2 separate regions of the Homo sapiens genome follow, and region 2 is linked to region 1. Evidence: promoter capture Hi-C in 16 types of primary human blood cells and fetal thymus (Javierre and others, 2016). All regions are on one chromosome and are shown on one strand. Each heading gives the region's core, a stretch centred on a gene start or on the middle of the fragment in contact. The rest is flanking DNA. Distances are from core to core; before and after follow the strand shown. Region 1 holds the start of ARHGEF18-AS1 (ARHGEF18 antisense RNA 1). Region 2 overlaps INSR (insulin receptor).

What was found. The method cuts DNA at HindIII sites, captures the fragments that hold promoters and counts their contacts. A CHiCAGO score of 5 or more calls a contact.
Region 2: a contact is called between a fragment that was not itself captured here and the fragment with the promoter of ARHGEF18-AS1 in region 1, in 1 of 17 cell types (naive B cells). The highest score is 5.0, in naive B cells.

The regions. Positions count from the first base shown.
Region 1 is chr19:7,392,640-7,400,133 of GRCh38, forward strand. It overlaps ARHGEF18-AS1 (ARHGEF18 antisense RNA 1), which reads right to left and starts at 2,420. Exons shown (of 2, transcript NR_186326.1): 1 at 2,354-2,420. The region is part of intron 10 of ARHGEF18 (Rho/Rac guanine nucleotide exchange factor 18); the gene reads left to right. RefSeq lists silencers at 2,179-2,619, 2,328-2,897, 5,151-5,351, 7,011-7,211 and enhancers at 3,108-3,287, 5,363-5,868, 5,869-6,373. The HindIII fragment of the contact is 12,223 bases long and covers 1-3,160 here.
Region 2 is chr19:7,161,921-7,169,514 of GRCh38, forward strand. It overlaps INSR (insulin receptor), which reads right to left. Exons shown (of 22, transcript NM_000208.4): 7 at 6,048-6,174; 8 at 4,234-4,484; 9 at 1,112-1,279. Among named protein-coding and RNA genes, the nearest start is that of ZNF557, 96 kb to the left of the region's middle. The HindIII fragment of the contact is 3,001 bases long and covers 2,196-5,196 here.

The DNA of each region.
Region 1 (7,494 bases), core at 1,170-3,669:
AGGAGGTGGAGGCTGCAGTGAGCCTAGATGGTACCACTACACTGCAGCCTGGGTGACAGAGTGAGACTCTGTCTCAAGAAAGAAAAAAAAAAAAAAAGAAAGAAAAAGAGAAAGAAAGAAATAAGGTTCAAAGGCCGGGCATGATGGCTCACACCTACAATCCTGGCATCATAGGAGGCCCAGGCGGGCAGATCACTTGAGCTCAGGAGTTCGAGACCAATCTAGGCAACATGGCGAAACTCTGTCTCTACAAAAAAATTAGCCAGACGTGGTGGTGTGTGCCTGTGGTCCCAGCTACTTGGGAGGCTGAGGTGGGAGGACAACTTGAGCCCAGGAGATGGAAGCTGCAATGAGCTATGATTGTGCCACTGCACTTCCAGCCTAAGTGACAGAGTGAGATCCTGTCTCAAAAAAAAAAAAAAAAAAAAAAAAAGGAAAAAAAATAAGGTTCATGCCCCTAAGTCCATAAGCCACAGCTACACAGCTGCCCAACCATTGAGCCCTCATAAACTCCCGTGTTAGAGTTTCTGACCTCAGCTGCAGTAGGGTGCCTGGTGAATTACGTCTTGCATTTCTGGGACATCCAATTCCCTGAACATGCTCCCTTCCTCTGGACCATGAAGGTTGGACTTGAACTGAAGGCTAGTCCACCTGGGGACGCAACCCTCCAGCTTCTGAACTGGGGACTCTCAACAACATATTGTGCATGTTTTGAAGTGATTGGGTTTGGGGAAATCTTTTTTTCTAAAATAGAGACTGGGTCATGCGAGGTTTCCCAGGCTGATCTCAAAGCTCCTGGACTCAAGTGATCCTCCCTCCTCAGACTCCCAAAGTGTTAGGATTACAGGCATGAGCCGTCTTGCCTGGCCATGGGGAGATCTTCTAGGCCTGGCTGACCAGCCAACCTTGGTGAGAGCTGTTCTGCTCGACTCCTGGTTACTGTTCAACTGCCTCCCCTGTGGCAGGACTTGGATTAGACAGGCAACCTCAAGACTGGGGTGTCTGATGGCAATTGAGAGGTTGCTGGTGCTGGGGGAAGCATCTGGCCTATCCACATCTGCCAAATAGCACCTGTGTGGAAGTGGATAGGGGAGGGTATGGTATGTGTTTCAGACTCTGAGCACCTGTTTGAGGGTATCTGACAGCATCTGTATTGGGGTTATCTAGTATGTGTTTGGGGGTATCTGCTGGACCTATGTGGAGTGTCTGACATATTTGGGGGTTACCTGGAAGCCTGTTTTGGGTATCTGATGGCACCTGCCTGGGTGCCTGTGTTTAGGGGATCTGATGGTATCTATGTTGGGGTGTCTGAGACCACTGGAGAGGTATATGATTCATTTTTCCCAGACCCACCTTTCTGAAGTCTATGCTGCCTCTTTTTTTGTTGTTGTTATTTTGAGACAGAGTCTTGCTCTGTTGTCCAGGCTGGAGTGCAGTGGCATGATTATAGCTCACTGCAGCCTGGACCTCCCAGGCTCAAGTCATCCTCCCACCTCAGCCTCTGGAGGCATGATCATAGCTCACCGCAGCCTGGACCTCCCAGGCTCAAGTCATCCTCCCACCTCAGCCTCTGGAGGAGTTGGGACCACAGGCAGGCGCCTCCATGCCCTGCTCATTTTAAAAAATGTTTTGTAGAGATGGGGTCTTGCTATGTTGCCCAGACTGGTGGTCCTGAACTCCTGGGATGAAGTGATCCCCCCACCACTCCCTGATGCTGCTTCTTTTTTCTCAGGTGACAGACCCTGCCCTCTCCATTTCTTGGACTCTCCCCGCTAGGACTCCCCACCACTGGGAGTGCCCCCCTTAGGTACTTCCAATCCTAACGAGCCCGTAGGAGCCCACTGACAACCCCTCCAGGCATCCGTTGATTCTTCCAAAACACCCCCAGCTCCACTGTCCTCCCTTGGGGTCCCCTTAACCCCGCTATCCTCCCTCGGGGTCCCCCAACTCCGCTGTCCTCCCTCGGGGTCCCCCCAACCCCGCTGTCCTCCCTTGGGGTCCCCCAACCCCGCTGTCCTCCCTCAGGGTCCCCCTAACTGTGCTGTACCCCCCTTGAGATTCTCCAAACCGCTGTCCTCCTCAGGACTCCCTCCCCAGCCGCGCTAATCACCCAGGCTTCCGTTAACCCCACAAAACGCCCACCTAACCCTGCTGCTCTCCCTCTGGATCCCCGCAACCCAGCTGTCCCCTCAGAGCCCCCGGCCCTACTGACAGCCAGGCTCGCATTGCTCTCCTTCAAAAAGCCCCCCAACCCCGCTGACCCGCCCCTCAAAAGTCGCCCTCACCCTCGCCGCGAGCACCCTCCCACTTCGGTGCCCGCGCCCCTCTCAAGGCCGAGCCGACGCCCCCTCACCACGGCTCGGGGAGCAGCAGCCCCAGGTCCCCGGGAGCGCCCCGCCCTCGAGGGCACGCCTCCTTCCGGGTCACGCCCTCTGCCCCGCCTCCGAGGCGGGATCGCGCATGCGCTGCTCTCCTCGCGCGGCTTCCCGCTTCCGGCTCCCAGCTGCTAGCTACTGTGGATCTGGGGGGGCCGGACGGAGGCATCGGAGGCGGCTGCGAGAGTGGCAGAGGAGCTGGCGGAGAGCGGCCTGCGGGCGATCGGGCCGAGGTGAGGACGGCGGCGGGGCGGTCCCGAGGAAAACGGGGCTCAGGAGGGGGCCCTCGGTCTCTTCAGGGGGTGGCCTGGGGCGCGGGACCCCCGGGGCTGCCTCGGGCCTCCCGCCGGCTCCTGGGGGACTTCTCCAGGCAGGCGAACGGGTGCTGGGGTGCAGGCTGCTCCTTCAATGCATGGAGGCTCTAGGCGGCGATTGCAGGGTGCAGAGGTGCAGACGATGCCCGCCCGCTCCGTCCGAGCCCCAGCCAGTCCTGGGGTGCTACGGCTTACTCTCCTCCAGGAGAGGAGAGGAGGGGTCACTTGGGCCCCAGCCTCTGCTCCTCGTTCAGGAGCGCCCGGGGCAGGACCAGGGATGGAATGGAACCCACCACAATACCCAGCACCGTCGTATTTCAGGCCTCCCGGGAGAACCCTCACACCCCGGAGCAGACAGCCCTCCCTGGCAGGGAGCGTTTGGGTGCAAAACCGTGAGAACTATCTGTGCCATGGGTTTTAGTTTCTTGTATAAGAACTCAGTTGGTGCTTTCATTGCGGACGGGAACGAGAAGCTTTCCCCTGGTCCTTACATGTTTCGTTTTGTTTTACGTTTTTAAATTTCAACTTTTATTTGAGATTGAGGGGGTACATGTACAGGTTTGTTACCTGGATATATTGCGTGATGCTGAGGTTTGGGGTGTGACTGATCTCGTCACCCAGGTACTGAGCATAGTACTCAATAGATAGTTTCAACCCTTGACCTCCTCCTTCCCTTCCCGCTCTAGTAGAGCCCAGTTTCTGTTGTCTTCTTGGTGTCCATGAGTACCCAAGGTTTAGCTCCACTTACAAGTGGGAAAGTGCAGTATTTGGTTTTCTTTTCCTGCGTTAATTCTACTAGCACTTGAGTGTTTTGCTGTGGCTATCTGCCCCTTATCTCTTGCTCTGTTGAGATTAAAGCCTGGACCACAGGATTAAAAAACATTCTTAAAGTTTTACCACGGAAGCGAAGCGGCCAACACACCTTTTCCCCTTTGCCTTGTTTTCGCGGAGATGAAGCTCCAGCCAGTAGCTTTGAAGGGCCCCATTCTCTTCCCATTGACCAGAGAGAGAGTTCAGGACAGTATAGACAGCCCAGTGGCCAAGGGATGAGTTTTGCAGGTGTCTGAGTGAATGATTAATCCTCCAGCTGTAAGAGGTGTCAGGAGAGGCTGGGCGCGGTGGCTCAAGCCTGTAATCCCAGCACTTTGGGAGGCCAAGGTGGGTGGATCACGAGGTCAGGAGATCGAGACCATCCTGGCCAACATGGTGAAACCCCATCTCTACTAAAATACAAAAATTAGCCGGGCATGGTAGCGGGCGCCTGTAGTTCCAGCTACTCTGGAGGCTGAGGCAGGGGAATCACTTGAACTCGGGAGGCAGAAGTTGCAGTGAGCCGCGATCGGGCCACTGCACTCCAGCCTGGCGACAGAGCAAGACTGTCTAAAAAAAAAAAAAAAGAAGTGTCAGGAGCACAGGCTTGAGGTCAGATCCGAGCTGGGTTCTGGTCCCAGTTCCACCACCTGTTAGCCGTGTAACTTCACTAAGTTTCCGTCTTCCCATCTTTAAAATGGGAATAAGGGTTGGTTGGGGTTTCTATGAAGTAATCTGTGTAAGGTGCATCACAGAAGTGTCTGGCATATGGCAAACTTTCCATCAGTGTTATACACCCTTTGCATATGCGAATGCTCCCAGGCTTGGATGTTTAGGTTAACATTCCAAATTATAAAGAGTTTGGAAAATTTGAGCATCTCGGATGTTGTTTGGACCGAGTCAGGGTTTACGCTTTATCAGTAGTTTCCTATTTCTGTAGGTCAGCAAGCCTTTTTGCGAAAAAAAAAAAAAAAAAAAAATGAAGATGTGTTTGTTCTAGAGCAAAAAAGAGCAAACAGCTGGCAGGCATAATACATTTCATTTTTGTAAACGTTACTTTGTTTTGGTTTTGTATAGCTTATTTAGTTTTTGTTTTCTTCTGAAATTAGTATGTGATTTTACTTAAAATTTTTTTTTTCTTTTTAGAGACAGGGTCTCACTCTGTTGCCCAGACTGGAGTGCAATAGCACAATCATAGCTCACTACAGCCTCGAACTCCTGGGCTCAAATAATCCTCCTGCCACAAACTCCCAAGTAGCTGGGACTACAGACACGCGCTTCCATGTCTGGCTAATTTTTAAAAATTTTTTGGGCCGGGTGCGGTGGCTCACACCTGTAATCCCAGCACTTTGGGAGGCCCGGGGGGGGGCAGATCACGAGGTCAGGAGATTGAGACCATCCTGGCTAACACGGTGAAACCCCGTCTCTACTAAAAATACAAAAAATTAGCTGGGCATGATGGCGTGTGCCTGTAGTCCCAGCTAGTCAGGAGGCTGAGGCAGGAGAATGGCGTGAACCCGGGAGGTAGAGGTTGCAGTGAGCCGAGATCGTGCCACTGCACTCCAGCCTGGGCAACAGAACGAGATTCCATCTCAAAAAAAAAAAAAAATTTTTTTTGTGGGGTCTCGCTATGTTGCCCAGGCTGGTCTTGAAGTCCTGGACTCAAGCGATCCTCCCACCTCGGCCTCCCAAAGTGCTAGGATTACAGGCGTGAGCTGCCACAGCCTGTGGTTTTTGTTTTTGTTTTTTTAACTGACAGATAACAGTGTATGTATTTATCATGTGCAACGTGACATATTCTTGAAAAATGCAAGAGGAGCGGATGTTAAGCACTTTCACCACAAAAATGAGAGCTATGCGAAGTGCTGCATTTGTTACTAAGCTAGATTTAATCATGCCACTGTGTATATATACTTCAAAGTGTGTTTCCTTTTTCTTTTTCCTTTTGTTTTTTGAGACGGTCTCGCTCTGGCGCCCAGGCTGGAGTGCAGTGGTGTGATCTTGGCTCACTACAACCTCCGCCTCCCAAGTTTAAGCAATTTCGCCTCAGCCTCCCGAGTAGCTGGGATTACAGGTGTGTGCCACCACGCCCAGCTAATTTTTTGTATTTTTAGTAGAGGCGGGGTTTCGCCATGTTGGCCAGGCTGATGTCGAACTCCTGACCTCAGGTAATATCCCCTCCTTGGCCTCCAAGAGAGCTGAGATTACATGCATGAGCCACCACGCCCGGTCATATTTCATTTTTAAATGGCATACCTTAGAGAAGCAGAAAAGAGACCGGGCACCATGGCTCACACCTGTAATCCCAACACCTTGGGAGGTCGAGGTGGGCAGAGAGGCCAGGAGTTCGAGACCAGCCTGGCCAACAGGGTGAAACCCCATCTCTACTAAGAAATACAAAAATTAGCTGGGCGTGGTGGCCTGCGCCTGTAATCCCAGCTACTTGGGAGGCTGAGGCAGGAGAATCGCTTGAACCCGCAAGGCAGAGGTTGCAGTGAGCCGAGATCACGCCATTGCACTCCAGCCTGGGCAACAGAGCTAGACTCTGTCTCAAAAAAAAAAAAAAAAATAAAGAAAGAAAGAAAAGAGATTCTTTGGTTCCTTCTCTCTTTCTTGCTTAAATCGACTTGAGAATGTCCCCACTTTGAAAGGGGAAGTAGCACATACATTGTTTCTGGCATAGCTGTAGTATAATTTTCATTCTTGTCACACAGTAGCAATTACGGCTTCAAGGCCATTGCCCTTTGTGGGCCAGGGCCGTGGTGACTGGCTGTGCCTCCCTGGGTGTTTACCTAGCACATGTTTAACATAGCTCAGATCGTGTGTCAAGATCTCCCTCATTCTCACTCATCCTGGGTCATGTTTCTATCTCTTCAAACTCTATGACTTACAAAACATTTTTGCTGCCACCTCTCTGAAAATCATTTAAAAGCCCAGAGACCTTATATGAAGTCCAGCCAATCGCTGTTTCTTTGTTATTTGTTAGGTAAACTTTACTTTCCCCCTGAGACGGTCAAGAACTACTGTGTTTGAAAACCCTCTCTCTAGGTGCAAAACAGCACCAGTGGAAGCCTCGCAGCTGCCTGGAGGAATTTTTTGAGGGGAGGATTGTGGCTGACTGGGTGAGGGAGGGAAACTGGGTAAAATAATGTCCTCCGAGAGCATTCGGTGACAGCAGTTGTTCTCATTTTTGTGATGCAAATTAAGTTGTATGTGAACTAAATTAAATTTGCTTGCTTCTCTGCTTTTGTCAGAGATAGATTCATAGTTTCAACTGAGTATAGAGTTCTAGTCTGATTATGTTCAATATGTTCAAAGCAGTAGATACACTAATGTTTTTTTTTCCTTCTTTTTTTTTTTTGAGACAGAGTTTTGCTCTGTGCCCCAGCCTGGAGTGCAGTGGCGCGATCTTGGCCCACTGCAAGCTCCACCTCCGGGTTCACGCCATTCTCCTGCCTCAGCCTACCGAGTAGCTGGGACTACAGGTGCCTGCCACCACGCCTGGCTAATTTTTTGTATTTTTAGTAGAGATTGGGTTTCACCGTGTTAGCCAGGATGGTCTCGATTTCCTGACCTCGTGATCCGCCCACTTCGCCTCCCAAAGTGCTGGGATTACAGGCGTGAGCCACCACGCCTTTTTTTTTTTTTTTTGAGACAGAGTTTCGCTCTTATCACCTGGGCTGGAGAGCAGTGGTACGATCACAGCTCACTACAGCCTCGACCTCCTAGGCTCAAGCAATCCTCCCACTTCAGCCTCCCAAGGAGCTAGGACTATAGGTGCGTACCACCGCGCCCAATTAATTTTTGTATTTTTGTGTGTGTGTTAGAGATAGGGTTGCCCAGGCTGGTCTCAAACTCATGGGCTCAAGCGATCCTCCTACCTTTGTCTCCCAAAGTGTTGGTATTATAGATGTGAGTCACCATGCACGGCTTCATACACTGATTTATGGTCATATATTGAAAAAATATATATTCTAAAGGTTTCACTAACAGTA
Region 2 (7,594 bases), core at 2,446-4,945, 230 kb before region 1:
GCCTGTAATCCCAGCGCTTTGGGAGGCTGAGGGGGGTGAATTGCTTGAAGCCAGGAGTTTGAGACCAGCCTGGGCAATATAAGGAGACTCCATCTCTACAAAAAGAAGTTTAAAAATTAGCCAGGGCCAGGCGTGGTGGCTCATGCCTGTAATCACAGCACTTTGGGAGGCCGAGGCGGGTGGATCATTTGAGGTCAGGAGTTCAAGACCAGCCTGGCCAACATGGTGAAACCCCATCTCTACTAAAAATACAAAAATTAGCCGGGTGTGGTGGCAGGCGCCTGTAGTCCCAGCTACTCAGGAGCCTGAGGCAGGAGAATCGCTTGCGCCTGGGAGGCAGAAGTTGCAATGAGCCGAGATCATGCCACTGCACTCCAGCCTGGGTGACAGAGTGAGACCCTGTCTCAAAAAAAAAAAAAAAAAAAAAAATTACCTGGGCATGCTGGTGCACACCTGCAGACAATTGTGGTGTTCCAGCAACTCATGAGGCTGAGGCAAGAGGATTGCTTGAGCCTGGGAGGTGGAGGTTGCAGTGAGCAGAGATCATGCCACTGCACTCCAGCCTGGGCAACAGAGTAAGACCCTGTCTCAAAAAAAAAAAAAAAATAGGCCGGGTGTGGTGGCTCATGCCTGTAATCCCAGCACTTTGGGAGGCCAAGGTGGGTGGATCACCTGAGGTCACCTGAGGTCGGGAGTTTGAGACCAGGCTGACCAACATGGAGAAACCCCGTCCCTACTAAAAATACCAAATTAGCCGGGCGTGGTGGCGCGTGCCTGTAATCCCAGCTACTCGGGAGGCTGATGCAGGAGAATCACTTGAACCCGAGAGGTGGAGGTTGCGATGAGCCAAGGTCGCGTCATTGCACTCCAGCCTGGGCAACAAGAGTGAAACTCCATCTCAAAAAAGTAAATAAATAAAAAATAAAATAAATAAATAAATAGATAAAAACATGTATGTGTGTTTTCATATGAGATAGAATGGAGTGTGTGTGTGTGTGCCTTCCGACACTGAGACACAGGAAGAGATAGCTGCTTCCCTAGAGGTGAAGCAAAGTGCATCAGACACACGTGTGCAAACCCCACCGATCCTAGCACAGCTGCCTGCACTCACCTTTGAGGCAATAATCCAGCTCGAACAGCTCACTGTCTTCCGCCTGCCTCTCCCAGAAAACCAGGTAGTGGGTGATGTTGCCATTGGGGTCGGAGGGTGGTTTCCACTTCAGAATAATCTGGGATGATGAGTTAGACACTGAGATTGGATCCAGGGGCACAGAGGGGTCTGTCAGGGAGAAAGGAAATGGGTCCATCATGAGAAACAGTGTGCAAAGAAAGCTGGTGGGAGGATGGCGGGGGACACACAAGTTAAAGACATCATGAGGGCACCCATCCCAGCATTTTGGGCGGCCAAGGCAGGCGGATCACGAGGTCAGGAGATCGAGACCATCCTGGTTAACACAGTGAAACCCCGTCTCTACTAAAAATACAAAAAATTAGCCAGGTGTGGTGGTGGGCGCCTGTAGTCCCAGCTACTTGGGAGGCTGAGGCAGGAGAATGGCGTGAACCTGGGAGGCGGAGCTTGCAGTGAGCCGAGATTGCGCCACTGCACTCCAGCCTGGGTGACAGAGCAAGAGTCCGTCTCAAAACAAAACAAAACAAAAAAGAAAAAAAAAACCACCACCAACCAACCAAACAAAACCCAAAAAACCCAAAGTAACGGAGGTGGCCGAGGGAGCTGGGGATGGGGAGGGAGTCCAAACACCTGGGAGCTAGAAGTTTCTGAAAACTGTAAGTCTTTTGGTGTCACTAAAAGATACAGGATGAATGAGCGGGGATTAACTGAAGAAGATAGGGTTGATTTATAAAGTTTGAATTCGAGGCCAGGCACAGTGGCTCATGCCTGTAATCCCAGCACTTTAGAAGGCCGAGGTGGGCGAATCATCTGAATCACCTGAGATCAGGAGTTCGAGACTACACCTGGCCAACATGGTGAAACCCTATCTCTACTAAAAAAAAAAAAAAAAAAAAAAAATTAGCTGGACATGGTGGTGGGCGCCTGTAATCTCAGCTTCCTGGGAGGCTGAGGCAGGAGAATCTTGAACCTGGGCAGAGGTTGCAGTGAGCTGAGAATGCGCCATTGAACTCCAGCCTGAGAGACAAGAGTGAAACTCCGTTAAAAAAAAAAAAAAAAAAAAAAAAGCTTGAATTTGAGCCTACAGGACGGGGTTTCTCACCCTTAGTACTATTGGCTTTTAGGACTGGATAATTCTTTGTCATGAAGGAGGGTGCATCCTGTGTGTTGCAGGACATGGAACAGCCTCTCTGGCTTCCGCCCACGAAATGCCAGTGGTTTCATCTCCACAGCTGTAACAACCAAAAATGTCTCCAGACATTGATTGGCAGCTGTTCCCTGGCAGAGCAGTTAACCTCCTTTGGGAACTACTGCTATAAGAGAAGCACTTAGGTTTTACAAAAATATAATTAGGCCGGGCCCAGTGGCTCATGCCTGTAATCCCAGCACTTTGGGAGGCCAAGGTGGGCGGATCATTTGAGGTCAGGAGTTCCAGAGCAGCCTGGCCAACATGGTGAAGCCCCATCTCTATTAAAAATACAAAAATGGCTGGGCGCGGTGGCTCATGCCTGTAATCCCAGCACTTTGGGAAGCCGAGGCAGGCGGATCACCTGAGGCTCGGAGTTCGAGACCAGCCTGACCAACATGGAGAAACCTTGTCTCTACAAAAAAAAAAAAAAAAAAAAAATTCGCCAATCGTGGTGGTGCATGCATGTAATCCCAGTTACTCGGGAGGCTGAGGCAGGAGAATCGCTTGAACCCGGGAGGCAGAGGTTGCAGTGAGCTGAGATAGGGCCATTGCACTCCAGCCTAGGCAACAAGAGCGAAACTCCATCTCAAAAAAAAAAAAAAAAAAAAAAAAGGCTGGCATGGTGGCTTATGCCTGTAATCCCAGCACTTTGGGAGGCCAAGGTGGGCAGATTGCAGGTCAAGAGATTGAGACCATCCTGGCCAACATGGTGAAATCCCATCTCTACTAAAAATACAAAAATTAGCTGGGCGTGGTGGCACGCCTGTAGTTGCAGCTACTTGGGAGACTGAGGCAGGAGAATCACTTGAACTGGGACGGGGAGGTTACAGTGAGCTGAGATCACACCACTGCACTCCAGCCTCAGTGACAGAGTGAGACTCTGTCTCAAAAAACAAAACAAAACAAAACAAAAATTAGCCAAGTGTGCTGTAATCCCAGCAACTTGGGAGGCTGAGGCAGGAGAATCACTTGAACCTGGGAGGTGGAGGTTGCAGTGAGTCCAGATGGCGCCACTGCACTCCAGCCTGGGTGACAGAGTGAGACTCCATCTCAAACAAACAAACATAATTAAATTGCTGTGAAATACTCCAGGCCAAAACAAACAACAAAACAAAAAGAAGTAACAAGTGGGAAGAGGGAACAGGCGTCGAGATGAAACAAAAATGACCAAAGGCTGAAGCTGGGAGGCGGCTAACTATGGGGTTTTGTTCTGTGTTGTGAATATTTGACAATTTTTCATAATAGGATGAAAAATATAAATATTCCCATCAAGTGGCTTGTTGCTACTGCCTCGTCTGAAACTATAAGCCTCAATACCCAGCTCCTTTAAAAGCCAATAACTGACTGGGCAAGGTGGCTCACACTTCTAATCCCAGGACTTTGGGAGGCCGAGGCAGGAGGATCACTTGAGGCCAGGGGTTCAAGACCAGCCTGGGTAACACAGCAACGTTCTGTCTCTACAAGAAATACAAAAATTAGCTGGGTATAGTGGTGCATGCCTGTAGTCCCAGCTACTCAGGAGGCTGAGGTGGGAGAATTACTTGAACCTGGGAGGCGGAGGTTGCAGTGAGCCGAGATCATGCCATTGCACTCCAGTCCGGGTGACAGAGTGAGACTTCATCTCAAAGAAAAAAAAAAAAAAAAGCCACACATGGTGGTATACTCTGGTAGTTCCTTCTACTTAGGAGGCTGAGGCAGAAGGATTGCTTGAGCCCAGGAGTTTGAGGCTGCAGTGAGCCATGATCACCCCACTGCATTGCACTCTAGCCTGGGTGACAAAGTAAGACCCTGTCTAAAAAAAAAAAAAAAGCCAATAACCATATCAAGGAGCATTTTATACAACCTCACTGCATCAGCCTATTAAAAGCAAGAGGTCTGATTCACATACGAATTCACATTCCCAAGACACACTCACTGGTGGCATCTGTCTGGACATAAATGATGTCACTCTTGGCCCCATAGGTCCGGCGTTCATCCGAAAAGGTGACCAGGGTCTTCACAAAGATGGCATACTGGGTCCAGGGCTTGAGACCCCGCATCAGCCACCCTGGGTGGTTCTGTGATTTGGGGTCGTTGGACCTCAGGGGTGGGTCAATGTCTACCACCGTCCAACTGTTGGAACCACACGCATCCTGCCCGTCGAACTCCGTCACATTCTGATAAGGGCTTTCAAGACAAAACAGCAGAAGGCAGTTACCCTTACAAGACCGTCACACTGAGTGCCGTGCAGATGAGGCCTGGGAAGTTACATCCCATAGGGTCACATGTTACTCACCCAACAATCTAATGCCACAAGAAAAAATAACTCGGGAACAGCCAAAGAGAAAGGAACTGTCAACCCTGACATCTCAATGAAAAAACACAGCTTGGGCATCCCTTATTCAAAACACTTGAGACTTGGCCAAGTGCAGTGGCTCACGCCTGTAATCCCAGCACTTTGGGAGGCCGAGAATGGCGGATCACCAGAAGTCAGGAGTTCGAGACCAGCCTGGCCAACATGGTGAAACCCCGTCTCTACTAAAAATACAAAAATTATCTGGGCATGGTGGCAGATGCTTGTAATCCCAGCTATTCAGGAGGTTGAGGCAGGAGAATTGCTTGAACCCGGGAGGCAGAGGTAGCATCAGCTGAGATCGCACCACTGCACTCCAGCCTGGGCGACAAAGGGAGACTCTGTTTCAAAAACATAAATAAATAAATAAATAAATAAATGCTTGGGACCAGAAGTGTTTTGGATTTTGGATATTTTGGGGTTTTGAAATATTTGCATTTTACTAGTTAATTTGCATTGTACTGGTTCAGCATCTCTAATCTAAAAATCTGAAATCTGAAATGCTCCAATAAGCATCTCCTTTGAGTATCAAGTCGGCCCACAAAAAGCTTTGGATTTTGGAGCATTATAAATTTCAGATTTTCAGATTAGGGATACTCAATCTGTAATAATAGTAATAGCAGGAGCTCCCTCACAAGTTACTGATAAGATTAGACTGTGTGTCAGTGCTCAGCAAGGCACAAGGTAAATCTTGAGGGCTAGAACTATTATTAATATTACTACTGGTCAGGTGCGGTGGCTCATGCCTGTAATCCCAGCACTTTGGGAGGCCAAGGTGGGCAGATCACCTGAGGTCAGGAGTTTGAGACCAGCCTGGCCAACATGGCAAAACCCGTCTCTATCAAAAATACACAAATTAGCTACGTGTGATGGTGTATGCCCATAATCTCAGCTACTCAAGAGACTGAGGCAGGAGAACTGCTTGAACCCGGGAGGCAGAGGTTGCAGTGAGCCAAGATCTGCCACTGCACTGTACCCTGGGCAACAGAGCAAGACTCTGTCTCAAAAAAAAAAAAAAAATTGGGGATAAAAAAGAAAAATAGATAAGCAATACATTTGATAACATCCACTTAGTAGACTGAGCTCCTGACTACTAAGGATGTCTGATGAGACATACACAGGCAAGGCAAAATAGAATATTGCCCCAGGAAACTGGCCAGTCCGGGCTTCTATGGGAAAGCTGTCTGCTTCCATTTTAGGCATTTGATAAAAGCAGACACTATTGACTTTGCATGCCATCGACTGGTGAGATTGTAAAAAGGAACCTAAGATATTTATTCCAGGAGGAGGAGGGAGATAGACAGGAACCCAAGAGGGGCAGATTGGAGCACAAACGTAGCAAGCACAGAGCCAGCCAGCCCTCGCCTCCTCAGCGTCTCTCTAACTCTTCTACTTACGCCTCTTTGTAGAACAGCATGAACCCCAAGAGGTCTCGGAAGTCGGGGGGCCAGTACGGCTCCCATCTCAGCAAGATCTTGTCAAAAGATGTCCGAATGTAAGAAAATTTAAGTAACTCATTTTCACCTGGAAAAGTTAAAACAAAAGGCAAAAATGAGCTATTTCAGTGTAGTTTCAGACCAAAGCCTGGGACCCCCACACTTCCTGGAGGGACCGTGAGAAGGCAGAGGTGACGCTGCTATTCCCTTAAGGGTCTCCTCCCCATGTGCCTGGCTGAGTATGAATGGGGGAAGATTCAAAGGTAAGAGCCAGTTTTGCAACTTGGCCACTCACACTCACGTAAGCCAATGACTTGACTCAGCCAGACAGTCAACTGAATAAGCGCAGTCTGTACCCGCGCAAGAAGGACAACCGGCCAATAGTTATTGGAGGAAGGGATTTCCAAGGGTGATGTTTGTCCTGACACAACGTTGTCTCGCATATGGACTTGTAAGACTGACCTGGAAGGAGGTGCAACTCCAGTGCAAATAAACCTATGCCAAGTGAGTTTAGAGACCCTGCAGATCATTAGACATCGGAGAGACGCATCTAAGTAATTCTCTCTGCCTAGAAGACAAACCCTCTCCTAAACCTCACCCCAACCTCGCTCTCTCTCCTTGCACTACATTTTTTTTGAGACAGTCTTGCTCTGTCACCAAGGCTGGAGTGCAGTCCACCTACCGGGTTTAAGCAATTCTCATGCCTCAGCCTCTCAAGTAGCTGGGATTACAGGCACCCACCACCACGTCCAGCTAGTTTTTGTATTTTTTTTTTTTAGTAGAGATGGAGTTTCACCACATTGGCCAGGCTGGTCTCGAACTCCTGACCTCAAGTGATCTGCCTGCCTCGGCCTCCCAGAGTGCTGGGATTCCAGGCGTGAGCCACCATGCCCAGCCCTTGCACTACATTTTGACATAAGTAACTAACTCCCCATGAAGGTATCCCAGAAGCCCTTGGCAGCTCACTGTTTAGAATCTGTCAGGGAAGTGCAGTCAGCAGGCAGCCTGCAGCTGCAGAAACTGCAGGACCTGCTGTAGCATTCCAGCCAAAACCTGACTCTCCCTGGACAGCCCCCACCTATGACTGAGCTTGGTAGATGCCTGGCCGTCCCTTTGCAATGCAGAACTTCCCTGCAGACAACCGTGGCCTTGATCTCTTTCTGGGTTTGGCCAAGACTCAGGGATGCATCACCATCTGAGACTCTCCCAGCCCTATCCTCCCTCCTTCCCGCTCTCTGTTCACAGAGGTCAGACACACGCTATTGTCAAAAGGCTCTTCATGGCTGAGCGTGGTGACTCACACCTGTAATCTCAGCACTTTGGGAGGCCGAGGCGGGAGGATCACCTGAGGTCAGGAGTTCAAGACCACCCTGGCCAACATGGCAAAACCCTGTCTCTACTAAAAATACAAAAAAAAAAATTAGCCGGGCTTGGTGGCATGTGCCTGTAATCCCAGCTATTCTGGAGGCTGAGGCGAGATAATTACCTGAACCCAGGGGAAGGAGGTT